Linked DNA regions of Homo sapiens: region 2 is linked to region 1. The links are contacts of gene promoters, found by promoter capture Hi-C in blood cells and fetal thymus (Javierre and others, 2016). All regions are on one chromosome and are shown on one strand. Each heading gives the region's core, a stretch centred on a gene start or on the middle of the fragment in contact. The rest is flanking DNA. Distances are from core to core; before and after follow the strand shown. Region 1 overlaps DAZAP1 (DAZ associated protein 1). Region 2 holds the start of POLRMT (RNA polymerase mitochondrial).

Region 1 (6,296 bases), core at 1,856-4,355:
AACGTAACGAGACTCCAGGTGGTGGCAGGCACCTGTAGTCCCAGCTACTTGGGAGGCTGAGGCAGAAGGATCGTTTGAGTCAAGGTCGAGGCTGCAGTGAGCCGTGATTGTGTCACTGCACTCCAGCAGGGGTGACAGAGATCTCATCTCTTAAATAAAATTAAAAAAAAAATAAAAAATACTCTTAAATAAAATTAAAAAAATAAAAAATACTCAAATACAATTTTAAAAAATAATAAATACTTTCTCAATTTTTTTTTGAAAAATTGTCTCGCTGTGTTGCCCAGGCTGGAGTGTAGTGGCGCGATCTCAGCTCACTGCAACCTCCGCCTCCCGGGTTCAAGCGATTCTCCTGCCTCAGCCTCCCGAGTAGCTGGGACTACAGGCGCCCGCCAGCTAATTTTTGTATTTTTAGTAGAGACGGGGTTTCACCATATTGGCCAGGATGGTCTCAATCTCTTGACCTCGTGATCCACCAGCCTCGGCCTCTCAAAGTGCTGGGATGACAGGCGTGAGTAGCTGCGCCCGGCCACTTTCTCAATTTTGATCACTGTGCTGTGTTCATGTGAGAGAATGTCATTGTTCTTGGGAAACAATAGATATCTCAGTGTACACATAAAGGGGACTGCATCGGTCTCCAGCTACTCTCAAATATTTCAGTAGAAACACACACAGTGGGGATGGGTGCACTGGCTCACGCCTGTAATCCCAGCACTTTGCAAGGCTGAGGTGGGCGGATCACCTGAGGTCAGGAGTTCGAGACCAGCCTGGCCAACATGGCAAAACCCCATCTCTACTAAAAATACAAAAATTAGCTGGGCTCGGTGGTGCGCACCTGTAATCCTAGCCACTCGGGAGGCTGAGCTCGAGGTGTACTGCTTGAACCCGGGAGGCGGAGGTTGCACTGAGCCAAGATCAAGCCACTGCACTCCAGCCTGGGCGACAGAGTGAGGGTCCATCTAAACACACACACACACACACACACACACACACACACACACACACAGTTCACTGGGGGTGGGGCAAGAGGCACCACGTGCCAAAGGGTAAAATGTCAGCCAATGGTGAGTCTGGCAGGGCCAAGAGGATATGGGAATTTTTGTAATTTTCCTGTAAGTCAGAAGTTATATATACAATTATGGTATAAAAGACTTTCATTACTGAGAACAAGACAGAATTTCAGTTTCTTTTGAAACAAGTCTCAGTCCTTATGGAATCTGAGACAGCAACAGATAGCTTTCGTTTCACATAGCTGTGTCTGGAGCTCCCCACCGCAGGTGACCCGCCCGCCTCGGCCTCCCAAAGTGCTAGGATGACAGGCGTGAGGCACCGCGCGCGGCCACACTGTGTGTTTCTGTTGAGATATTTGAGAGCAGCTTCTAACGCTAAAGCTTCCTGTGTCCATGTGTCTTTTACTACCACTCAGGAGCCACCGGCGAACACCTTCTCCCTGGTCTACAGACAGAAGCCTCCGGGAAGTCCCGGAAAGCAGGGTCATCTCTTCAGTGGCAGGGACTGCCTCCAGGGCCCTGGCACAAAGTCCCTACTTCTGAATCTCAGGATGTTTTAATCAATAAAATAAGAAAGCTCCTGGCTGCCAACCTCACCAGGTCGTGAGTGAGAAGCCGGCACATCAGAAACATGCGGAGCCCTGGGCAGGCACCTCCCAGACACTGTCCATCAACTGCCCAGGCAGCAGAACCAACTCTCACACAAGTAAACGTCGGAGTCCAGGAAGCCGGGCGCGGGCAGAGGCCAAAAGGAGGAGCTGCTGGCTCTCGTGGGCTTGCTACGGGGCTGGCGGTCCGCTTGTCCTCAGCTCCAGGCTTGCTCAGCCTGCACCTTGGCTGGCGGCGTGTGGACTGAGGACGTTAACGGGGCAAGGCAACACTGGCCTACGCAGATGAAGGGGTCGGTGAGCAATGTGGCTCCTGCACCCTGCCTCTGAGGGGCCCGCTGGGTGGGAGAGTCATCACCCAGCTGACGGCATCTCCGACACTGGAAGTCGTGGCTCCTACAGACCTCACACCCCACAAACCCAAAAGGGGTGTTCTCATTAGTGGGGGAGGCGTGGGACGAGCTCCACTTCTTCCCTTGCAACCTGGAGTCCAGCGTGCAGTCTGCCCATCAAAGGTCATGATGAACATCTCCCAGGATCTGCAAGCCTGGCACCCAGGGCCTGCAGCTCGACACCTGGCAGGTGCTCAATCCACGGTGGCCGGCGCAGCCACCCTCTTCTGCCTGTTAAAGCAAAAGCCGTTTTGGATGGCAACCTCGCTTGCTGCGTGCCATTCGGGTGCCTGTGCGGTATTTATGCGTAAAGTCCATCTGCAGAGGCTTCCTCTGGCCTAGGCTGACCACAAAGAGCCCTGACCTCCTGGCAGCACCAGAGTGGGCTTCAAAAACCGGCGGCCAGCCCGGCCATTCGGGGCCAGCAGCCTCAATGGGGGCAGTTGGCAGGCGACCTTTCCCTTCCTGCTGGGCCGGGGGACCAAGCCAGGAGGAGCCTGCCTCCCCACAGACCCCACCTGGCTCTGGGCTCCGCCAGTCACACTCAGCTCCGTGCACAATCTCAAGAGGCAGAAGTCCAGGCCCAGTGGCGGCTGATGTGTGGGGAACCCTTCTCTTCTTCCAGAGCATCAGGAAGAGCCTCTAGGGACTTTCCTGCCCCTAAGACCAGGTGGGAAACCAGGACCACTTCACCCACTGCCTCAGGCCAGTGAGCCCAGCCCGCCCCTCCATAGCCTGGACTCCCTCTCCCCAGCAGGGTCAGATGCCCCCCCTCCAGCCCACGCCTGCAGGGTGTGGGGTCCACAGAACACAGGAGCGGTCCGTGAACTGGAACGCGCTGCTGTGTGCTGAAGGAGCCCCTGAATGCCCACATCCTGGGTGCTAACTGTGGTCACCCTCATCCTCTCCCTGCCAGCCCCGCCCTCCCAGGCGGACCAGTGTTCTCCTTGGCAACGCCTGGAGCCAAGCTGGAAGCTCAGCCTATAAGCATCTGTCGAATGACTGGCCTCTGCCAAAAGCCCTGTCACAGCTCTCAGGGATTCTGACATCATGACATGGTGTCACGGGGACCAGGCCTGGATGGGAAAAGGCCTCAGTTCACAGAAGACAGCACAACCTCAGATTGACGGGTCGCACCATGAACATAGCCGCCTGACCAGGAGCGCCCTCTGTGCGGGGCGGGCAGTGGAGGAGTGTGGACTCCCAGCTCCGGATCTTCCACCCCCTGGGGTGACCCCGGGCCCATCCCTCAACTCCTCTGTGCCTCAGTCTCTCTGGCAAAGCCAAGGGTTAGAGCCAAGGCTACAAGCACAGCTGGGCACGCTGCGCGCTGCTGCTAGCTCTGGGCCACTGGGGAGCTGCTGTGTGAAGGGCAAGCGCCAGGGTCCATGCTGCTGCCTTTCTAGACACCGGCCTGCTCCAGACCATTGGAGCCAAGGCGAGCCAGTCAGGAGCACATCCACCCTCAAGGCCCATTCACAGGAATCAAAGGAGCCGACACAGGACAAGCCATAAACCACAAGGAGCAGCGGCCCCCAGCGCAGGGGCAACCAGGCCAAAAGCACAGATGCTCCCAGACAGTGGCTCTCCCCCCAGCAGGACACTGGGTGATGTCTGGGAACATTTGTGGTTGTCACGACTGGGGGTACTCCTGACCCGGAGTGAATGGAGGCCAAAGGTGCTGCCCAGCACCCTGCAGTGCCCACGGTGCCCCAGAGTGATCCAGGCCAGAGTGCTGACAGAGCCCAGGAGACCTGCCTCGGAATAACTCCAAATGCACCAAGAGAGCCCCAGAAAGGCCGGCACGGCCCCATGAGGTTCCCTATCACTCCCCGCACTGCAACAGCCTCCCCCAGATCACGGCCCTCTCTGGCCTGACCAACAATCTTGCCAGGTGCCTTGTGCTCACTCTGCACAGGTACAAGTAGTCACGGCCTCTAGGGGCCCAGCCAGGAGCCCCACTCAGGATGTCTCCTTCCACAGCCACCCAATAAACCCAGAGACCTGCCATGGGCCTGGCTCTGAGCTGCATGGCCCCCGGCCACAGTCCTGGGTATCCTCGAAGCTGCCCAGAGGCGGCTTTCTCCTCTCTCCGCTGAGTCCTTCCTCCCTCTGTGACTTTCCTACAATATTTCCAGGTGTCCCTGTCTTACCATTCCCCAGTGTACCAGATAAAATCTTCCATAAACCTCTCTCTCCAGTTCCATGACCGTGTGCTGCCTTGGAAGCCAGCAGAACACAATGGCCTGGGCGCTCGAGGTGACCCCTCTGAGCCTCTGTCCTCTCCCCAGTAGGCCAGGCATGGGCCCTATCCCTGACACCTGGTCTACCACCCAGGCGCCTAGCACCCAGCGGCTACTCAACAGGATGTGGCGACCCCGGCCGCGCTGTGTCAGCTTCCCAGAATCCAAGTCAGAGGCGCTCAAGCCAGACTTTAAGATGACTTCACAAGGCCAGGGAGGGCACACTGGAGACTCGGGCCTTCCTGATCGCGCGTGCTCTGAGCGCTCCAGGCCACCTGCTGGTGCCAACCCTCTAACCCTCCTGACAGGTCAGTGCCTGTCCCCCACCCTTCACAAGAGGACCAGGACAGGCCCCGCTCCCAAAGGAGGACACTGTCCATCACATCCACCATGTAGGGTCCGCGTGCCAAACCCACCAGGATCCAGAGAGGGACTCCCCACACCCCACCACACGTATGCGCTTCCTCCTGCATGAAGCCCCCCTCAAGCTGACTGGAAGTCGGTGTGTGTAAGGCATCCGTTATCACCGGCAGGCCTCAGCTGACTTTCATCCCCCATCAAGCTTTACATGGACTTCTAAGCCAGCACAGGGACCCTCAAAACTTGGGACGACTTCTCAGACTCAAAAGCAGAGCTTCCCCCAAGGATGGCTCCCTAACCCACCTTCCAGGTGTGGATTCCCAGGGCAGCAGCTGGACGGCCACAAGTGTCCCAGAACAGGGGGCTCCCAAGCTCCAAGTCTCCTGAGGCGTTGACCCCGCACCCATGCATGCTCCAGGCCCAGCCCTCCAAGCGGGGTCCGGCGGGATCTCCTGCCTCCTCCATGGCAGTGAGCAGTGAGGGCTCTGCATCAGGAAGAGGGAGCTCCTCAGGCTGCCGAGCCCCCCCAGTGGGTAAGGGACACCGCAGACCCATGGCGTCCTGAGAGCCGCCATCTGCCGCAGAGAGGGCCTGCTTCCATCCAAGCTCAGCACCCTCCTGCATGGCACCCACCGCACCTGCAGGGGACTTGCCAGGAGGGCGCTTCGCAGGGTCACAAGCATTTCACGCACACAACAACTCCACACAGCAAGATCAGAGCAGACCGTGGACTCCGCATAGAATGGAAGCCGGTCTCCCATGCGACGGGCGGCTGTGGCAACACTTCTTGCCCAAGGAGTCTGACTTAGAAAGCAGTGGACACTCCTGGCAGCCGGGGAGGAGAGCAGGGTCCATGCACTCCAGTTCTCCTCCACGCAGCCCGTGGCGTCCGGGTGGCCTGCGAGCCTATTTGTGCTGTGGGTGGGACCCCTCCAGACCCAGGCTGGGACCCCAGCTGCCCCACTTCCCAAGGGTGTCCATGCAGGGAGGGGACAGGAGCCCTCACCTCTCTCCAGCCTCCTCACAGCCACGGCTTGGGTGGAGCGGGCCCACGTTCACCCGCGGCTTGAATGGACCTAATCCAGGTACCCCATCTGGGAGCCCTTTCCCTGCCTCACCCCAAAGTCGATGGCTCCATCCCCCATGGCCGGTGGACTCCCTGCTCAGGCCCATCCCTGCAATGTCCCTCACACAGGCACACGGACCCTGCCAAGTCAAAGTGCCTGGAGAGGACTCACAGCACGGGCTAGGCAGGGGCTAAGTGCTTTCATCCTGGTTCTCCAACGGAAGGTGCTCTTTTGTTTTGTCTGGGGAGGGGGAGAGCCCACAAAAGGCATTTCCCATCCACAAGTGTGACCTGTAGCTGGTGCGAGAGGCGCCTGCCAAGGCAACCCTCTAGCAGCAACCGCTCCCGCACTAGCCAAGCCCAGCGCTGAGAACACAGGGCGCTGCTCAAAGCTAAGGGCACCGAGAAATTTACACCAGACCACTAGGAAACCCAACCCAGACTGTTTTGCCGGAAGAATGCAACTCTAAAACGACGTCGCTGCGGCAGGAGCCGCTCCTACCAAAGAATGGCGCCGAGCCCTGGGGCACAGCGAAATGAGGTTTCCCGGCCCCGCGGGGTCCGGAGCAGGTCAGGCTCCTATAGGAGGGGACGCCTCGGCGCAGCAAAGATCCGCG
Region 2 (6,296 bases), core at 2,257-4,756, 780 kb after region 1:
TTCCATCTAGCGATTCTCGACTCTGTGGGGTTTGCTTGGTTGGGTTTTGTTTTGTTTTGTTTTTAGACAGAGTCTCGCTCTGTCGCCCAGGCCGGAGGGCAGTGGTGTGATCTCGGCTCCCTGCAACCTCCGCCTCCCGGGTTCAAGTGATTCTTCTGCCTCAGCCTCCTGAATAGCTGGGATTACAGGCACCCACCATGCCCGGCTAATTTTTGTTATTTTTATTGGAGATGAGGGTTTCACCATGTTAGCCAGGCTGGTCTCCAGCTCCCGGCCTCAGGGGATCCGCCCGCCTCGGCCTCCCGTAGTGCTGGGATGACAGGCGGGAGCCACCACGCCCGGCCAGATATATGGTTTCCCACTTTTGATGGTGATATTAAGTCTCTTCGTAAAACTTAAGCAAGAAAAATAATTAATGTTGTATTTATTAATTTATTTTTGAGACGGAGTCTCGCTCTGTCGTTCAGGCTGGAGTGCAGCGGCGAGATCTCAGCTCACTGCAACCTCAGTCTCTTGGATTCAAGCATTTCTCTTACCTCAGCCTCCCAAGTAGCTGGGATTACAGGCACCACCCACTACCACGTCCGGCTAATTTTTGAATTTTTAGTGGAGACAGGGTTTCACCACGTTGGCCAGGCCAGTCTCGAACTCCTGACCTCAGGGGATCTGCCTGCCTCAGCCTCCCAAAGTGCTGGAATTACAGGCATGAGCCACCATGACCAGCCAATATTGCATTTACTTAATACAGGAGTGGTGGAGACAGATGTAGTTAAAATAAATGGTGGGGCTGGGGGGTGGTGGCGGCTACAGAGTTGCGAGGCTGGAATTTGGGCAATGAGCTGTTTCAGAAACTGCTGTCTTATTCCAAAACCCAGATTATGTTCTTTTTTTTTTGAGACAGGGTCTCGCTCTGTCGCCCAGGCTGGAGTGCAGTGGCTCAATCACAGCTCACTGCAGCCTCTGCCTCCTGGCTCAAGCAATTCTACATCTTCCCACCTCAGCCTCCCAAGTAGATGGGGCCACAGGCAGGCACCATCACAGCCAACAAAATTTTTTTGTATTATTTGTAGTGATGGGGTTTGGCTACATTGCCCAAGGCTGGAGTGCAGTGGTGCGATCTTGGCTCACTGTAACCTCCACCTCTCAGGTTCAAGTGATTTTCCTCCCTTGGCCTCCTGAGTAGCTGGGATTACAGGCACAGGCCACCATGCCCGGCTAATTTTCGTATTTTTAGTAGAGACGGGGTTTCACCATGTTGGCCAGGCTGGTCTCAAACTCCTGACCTCACGTGATCCGCCCGCCTCGGCCTCCCAAAGTGCTGGGATCTCATCAAATAAAAGAAAAGACTAACGCATAAGGAATGGTGAAATAGTTCAGAAGTCGGTTTCCACCCAAGTTTCTGGCTCTGCCAGCCTGCAGGGGTGCAGGGGGTGTCTGTAGGTCTTGGCACACCAGGCCTGGCTGATTCAGGGCCAGGCAGGTGACCCCAGTAGTGGGTGAGGTCTGAGGTCACAGCCCGCTGGGGCACCCTGAGGTGGACTGAGGCAGGTGAGGGAGGGTGCTGCCGTCTGTCGAAAACATTCCCAGCCGGTGGCATCAGTGCGCTCACGCAGGCGTCGGCAGCAGCGTCTGGAATGTGCTGTAAGGAGGCTGCCAGGCCCTTCCAGAGTGAGGTCGAGTCCTCGTTCTGGGCTGATGGGGAAACTGAAGTGCCAGGGTTTGGGGATGGAGGATAGCTTGAGCTGAGGCCCCCGAGCCCCCGTGTGGTCAGGCCCCCTAACTGAGCCCCAGCTACATCTTTGCTCCCTCTCCCCAGCCCCACTCTGCTCAAATTGCTCCTCTGTCCACGCTTGTTCCTGCCTCAGGGCCTTTGCACTTGTTTTGTTTTGAGACAGGGTCCTGTTCTGTCAACCCAGGCTGGAGTACAGTGGCGCCATCTCAGCTCACTGCAGTCTAAACCTCCTGGGCTCAAGCAGTCCTCCTGCCTCAGCCTCCCGAGTATCTGGGACCACAGGTGTGCACCACCATGCCTGGCTAATTTCTTTTTTTCCTTTGGTGGAGACTGGGTCTCAGTATCTCGGTTGCCCAAGGCTTGTCTGGAACTCCTGGGCTCAAGCGATCCTCCCGCCGCAGCCTCCCAAAGTGCTGGGATTACAGGCCTGAGGCACTGAACTGACCTCCCTTTGCACTTTTTTTTTTTTGAGACAGGTTCTCGCTCTGTCACCCAGGCTGGAGTGCAGTGGCGAGATCTTGGCTCACTGCAACCTCCGCCTCCCGGGTTCAAGCGATTCTCCTGCCTCAGCCTCCCGAGTAGCTGGGATTACAGGTGCCCGCCACCACCCCCGGATAATTTTTGTATTTTTACTAGAGACGGGGTTTTGCCATGTTGCCAGGCATGCTTGCGTATTTGCCAAGCTGGTCTCGAACTCTGACCTTAGGTGATCCGCCCGCCTCAGCCTCCCAAAGTGCTGGGATGACAGGCCTGAGCCACCAAACCAGCTCCCCTTTGCAACTGGGATATTAGCCTGGAACACAGTTACCCCCAGATATTCCTATTCTCACCCTTCCCAAGCCTACTGCCCCACAGCAGGCGCTCCCGCCTCTGGCCTGCTGCCCCGGCTGAACGACACAGGTGGGCACACCTTCCAGGTTCCATTCTAAAGCTCCCGCCCTGCTCCTCCTAGGCAGGATCACGCGGAGACCAGGGCAGGCTCTAGGCTCCGAGGTTTATTTCATTCCCTTGACCTCACCCCACTTAGCAGGTGAATCCAAGCCTGCCGCTCCATTCGGCTCCTGCCCCTGAGGGCTTGGGGATTGGAGGGTAAACTGAAGCTGGAGGCTGGGAGTCTCGCGGACTGGGGCTTTCTCTCCTTGCAGCCTCCCTGAGGTCGCACGTGCTGTGTCTTCCAGCAACTTGGTGGCCCTCTCTGAGCCTCAGCTTCCTCCATGATAGACGGCATCCTAATGACTCTTACCCAAAAGTTGTCGTTGGAGCAATGAAGGTTGCGGACAGGAATCTCTAAATTGCAGATGCTGTCCTCGTTATTAGATGAGTATGCCTTGAAAAAAAAAAAAAAAAAGCCGGGCACGGTGGCGGCGTCTGCAATCCCAGCGCTTTGGGAAGCCGAGGGGCGAGGATCTCTTTACCCCAGCAGTTCGAAGCTGCACTGAGCTATGATCACGCCACTGCACTCCAGCCTGGGCCACAACGCGTCCAAAACAAAACCAAAAAAGAAAGAAAAACAGAAAAAAAGTCCGGATTTGAGGTCCTCGGGAAAACAGCCTGAGAGTGCCTCCCAGTTGCCACGGCAACAGCTCTGTCCCGCCCCCTCCCTTTAAAAACAGCAGGAGGAACCAATCAGAGCGTCCACCGGCGCATGCCTTCGCGCCTCCGCTGCATCCTGGGAGTCTACTTCCGGCTGGGGTTTCCCTTCGCAGCCTCCGTCGACCATGAAACCACAACTCCCGGCAGGCGGCGCGGGCGCATGCGCAGGCGCGGGCCGGTGGGGTGGCCTGGAGCGGCGTGCGTAATGTCGGCACTTTGCTGGGGCCGCGGAGCGGCGGGGCTCAAACGAGCCCTACGGCCTTGCGGCCGCCCGGGACTCCCCGGCAAAGAAGGTAACACAAAGGGAGACGGCCAGGCAGCCCGGGGGCCACGGCGTGGGCTCCTCCCCGCGCGGCCGGGGCCTTTGGCGCTTTGACCTTTGCCTCTTTGCACCTGGGCGTGCGCAGCCCACCGACCCGGCCCCGCTTTCCACTCGCCCTTGCCCGCTTTTCGACTGAGGCTCCTCCGTGCAGTCTGACCTTTGACTCGTGGTTTCTTATGCAGCCTCCTGACCCCAGGTGTGGTGTTTAGGGCTCTTAACCTTTGACCTGCTGCACCTCGAGTGCGAGGAACCCTCTCTCGGCGGTTCCGCGCCCGTGTTCGCCGCGGCGGGGCCCTTCCACCTTCGCTGTCTTAGTTTCTTTCCAACTTAAGCCCGTGCTCCGAGAGTTTCCGCTGCGTTTAGGGCTCCTTTGCCCTTCGACCCTTCGGCTTCTGCCTTTATGGAGGCCCCCGCCCACACGCCCGGCCCCGCTCAGCCGCTCTCGTCTTTCCCGCAGGGACCGCCGGTGGCGTCTGCGGCCCCAGGAGGAGCTCGTCCGCCAGCCCCCAGGAGCAAGACCAAGACCGCAGGAAGGACTGGGGCCACGTGGAGCTGCTGGAGGGTGAGCGCGACCCCCACGGCGGCCCGGGAGAGGAGAGTCCGCTCCCTGCTGCCGGGAGAAAAGGCAAAGGCTCAGATTCTGAGACAGGCTGAGGGCGGTCTCCACCTCTCGGGTCCCAGGACACGCCCAGACGGCGTTGCTGAAACATCTCTTGCACCGCTCATGGGCCCTGTCCTTGCTGAGCAGGCTCCTTCCTGGAGCTCTCGTAATTCCCCCTCCCCAGAACCCCACCAGGTGCTCCCACTTTCCAGGGACATAGGTGAGGCCCAAGATTATGTCTGGAGAGACCCCCCCCCCGGCCCCGCCGCCAAGGCCACATGTGCAGAGCCAGGATGTGAACCCTGAACTGACTCAGCTGTCCTGGCTTGGCTCTGGGGGGTAGGCGCCTAATGGAGACTGGATGACTGCGAAACTTGGGAGGGACAGCCCAGGCTCCAGCGGTGGCAGGCCCTCGTCCTGGCCTGGCTGGTGGTGTGGGAGGGAGGTGGGAGCTTCCCTGTGCTTGCTTCCCGCCGGTGCTTCTGTCCCACATCCTGTCTGCGTCCATTAGGCAGCCGGGAAGGGAGAGGCGGGAGAACCTTTATAAAGGGAAAAAACCTGGCCAGGTGCGGTGGCTCACGCCTGTAATCCCAGCACTTTTGGGTGGCCGAGGTGGGCGGATCAAGAGGTCGGGGGTTCGAGGCCTGGTGCGGTGGCTCACGCCTGTACTCCCAGCACTTTTGGGTGGCCAAGGTGGGCGGATCAAGAGGTCAAGGGTCCGAGGCCTGGTGCGGTGGCTCACGCCTGTAATCCCAGCACTTTGGGAGGCCGAGGCGGGCGGATCAAGAGGTCATGAGTTCAAGACCAGCCTGGCCAACATGGTGAAACACTGTCTCTACTAAAAATACAAAAATTAGCTGGGCATGGTGGTGAACGCCTGCAGTGCCAGCTACTCAGGAGGCTGAGGCAGGAAAATCGCTTGAACCCGGGGAGACTGAGACAGGAGAATCGCTTGAACCCGGAAGGTGGAGGTTGCGGTGAGCCGAGATCATGCCATTGCACTCTAGCCTGGGCAACGAGGGAAATTCCATCTCAAAAACAAAACAAAACAAAACAAAGCTCTCAACTGTTAATCCTAAAAGTATCTCCTGAGTTTTGGAGCACTCTGAAGGCGGACATCACGCTTGTCTTTTTATTTCAGCAATTTTTTTTTTCTTGAGACGGATTCTCAATCTGTTGCTAGGCTGGAGTGCAATGGTGCGATCTTGGCTCACTGCAGCCTCCGCCTCCCGAGTTCAAGCAATTCTCCTGCCTCAACCTCCCGAGTAGCTGGAACTACAGGCGCGCACCACCACGCCCGGTTAATTTTTCGTATTTTTAGTAGGGACGGGGTTTCACCGTGTTAGCCAGGATGGTCTTGATCTCCTGACCTCGTGATCCGCCTGCCTCGGCCTCCTAAAGTGCTGGGATTACAGGCGTGAGCCACCACATCTGGACACCTGGGTCCCCCCCCCCCTTTTTTTTTTTGAGACAGGGTCCTGCTCTGTCTCTCAGGCTGCAGCACGGTGGCCTGATCACGGCTCACAGCAGCCAGGAACTCCTAGGCTTAGGTGATTCTTTCACCTCAGCCACCGGAGTAGCTGGGACCACAGGTGCGCGGCCCTGTACCCGGCTTATTTCAACAGTCTTTTTTTTTTAGATGGATTATTGTTCTGTTGCCCAGGCTGGAGTTCAATGGCGCTATCTTGAGTCACTGCAACCTCTGCCTCCCAGGCTCAAGCAATTCTCCTGCCTCAGCCTCCCAAGTAGCTGGTACTATAGACACATGCCACCACGCCCAGCTAATTTTTTGGATTTCTAATAGAGACGGGGTTTCACCATGTTGGCCAGGCTGGTCTCGAACTCCTGACCTTAGGTGATCTTCCTGCCTCGGCCTCCCAAAGTGCTGGGATGACCGACGTGAGCCGCCATGCCCGGCCAGCAATAGATTTCCAACAAGGCTTCTTTAAAGAGATACAGAACACTTAGGCATTGATTGGTTGGCAAAAATGCAACCTGAGGCGGCACGAGCAGGAGCCGCGTTTTCCCTGCGAGCTAGTGGCTCAGCG

What was found. Contacts are between HindIII fragments. The CHiCAGO score rates a contact against its expected background, and 5 or more counts as called.
Region 2: a contact is called between the fragment with the promoter of POLRMT here and a fragment that was not itself captured in region 1, in 1 of 17 cell types (neutrophils). The highest score is 5.5, in neutrophils.

The regions. Positions count from the first base shown.
Region 1 is chr19:1,408,700-1,414,995 of GRCh38, reverse strand. All of the region lies in intron 1 of DAZAP1 (DAZ associated protein 1), which reads right to left. Among named protein-coding and RNA genes, the nearest start is that of DAZAP1, 4.3 kb to the right of the region's middle. The HindIII fragment of the contact is 3,424 bases long and covers 1,394-4,817 here.
Region 2 is chr19:630,747-637,042 of GRCh38, reverse strand. POLRMT (RNA polymerase mitochondrial) reads left to right here and starts at 3,506. Exons shown (of 21, transcript NM_005035.4): 1 at 3,506-3,618; 2 at 4,105-4,209. The coding sequence starts at 3,531. It overlaps LOC105372234 (a long non-coding RNA gene), which reads right to left and starts at 3,579. Exons shown (of 2, transcript XR_936226.2): 1 at 3,148-3,579; 2 at 1-3,059. RefSeq lists silencers at 3,293-3,552, 3,563-3,722. The HindIII fragment of the contact is 10,035 bases long and covers 1-6,296 here.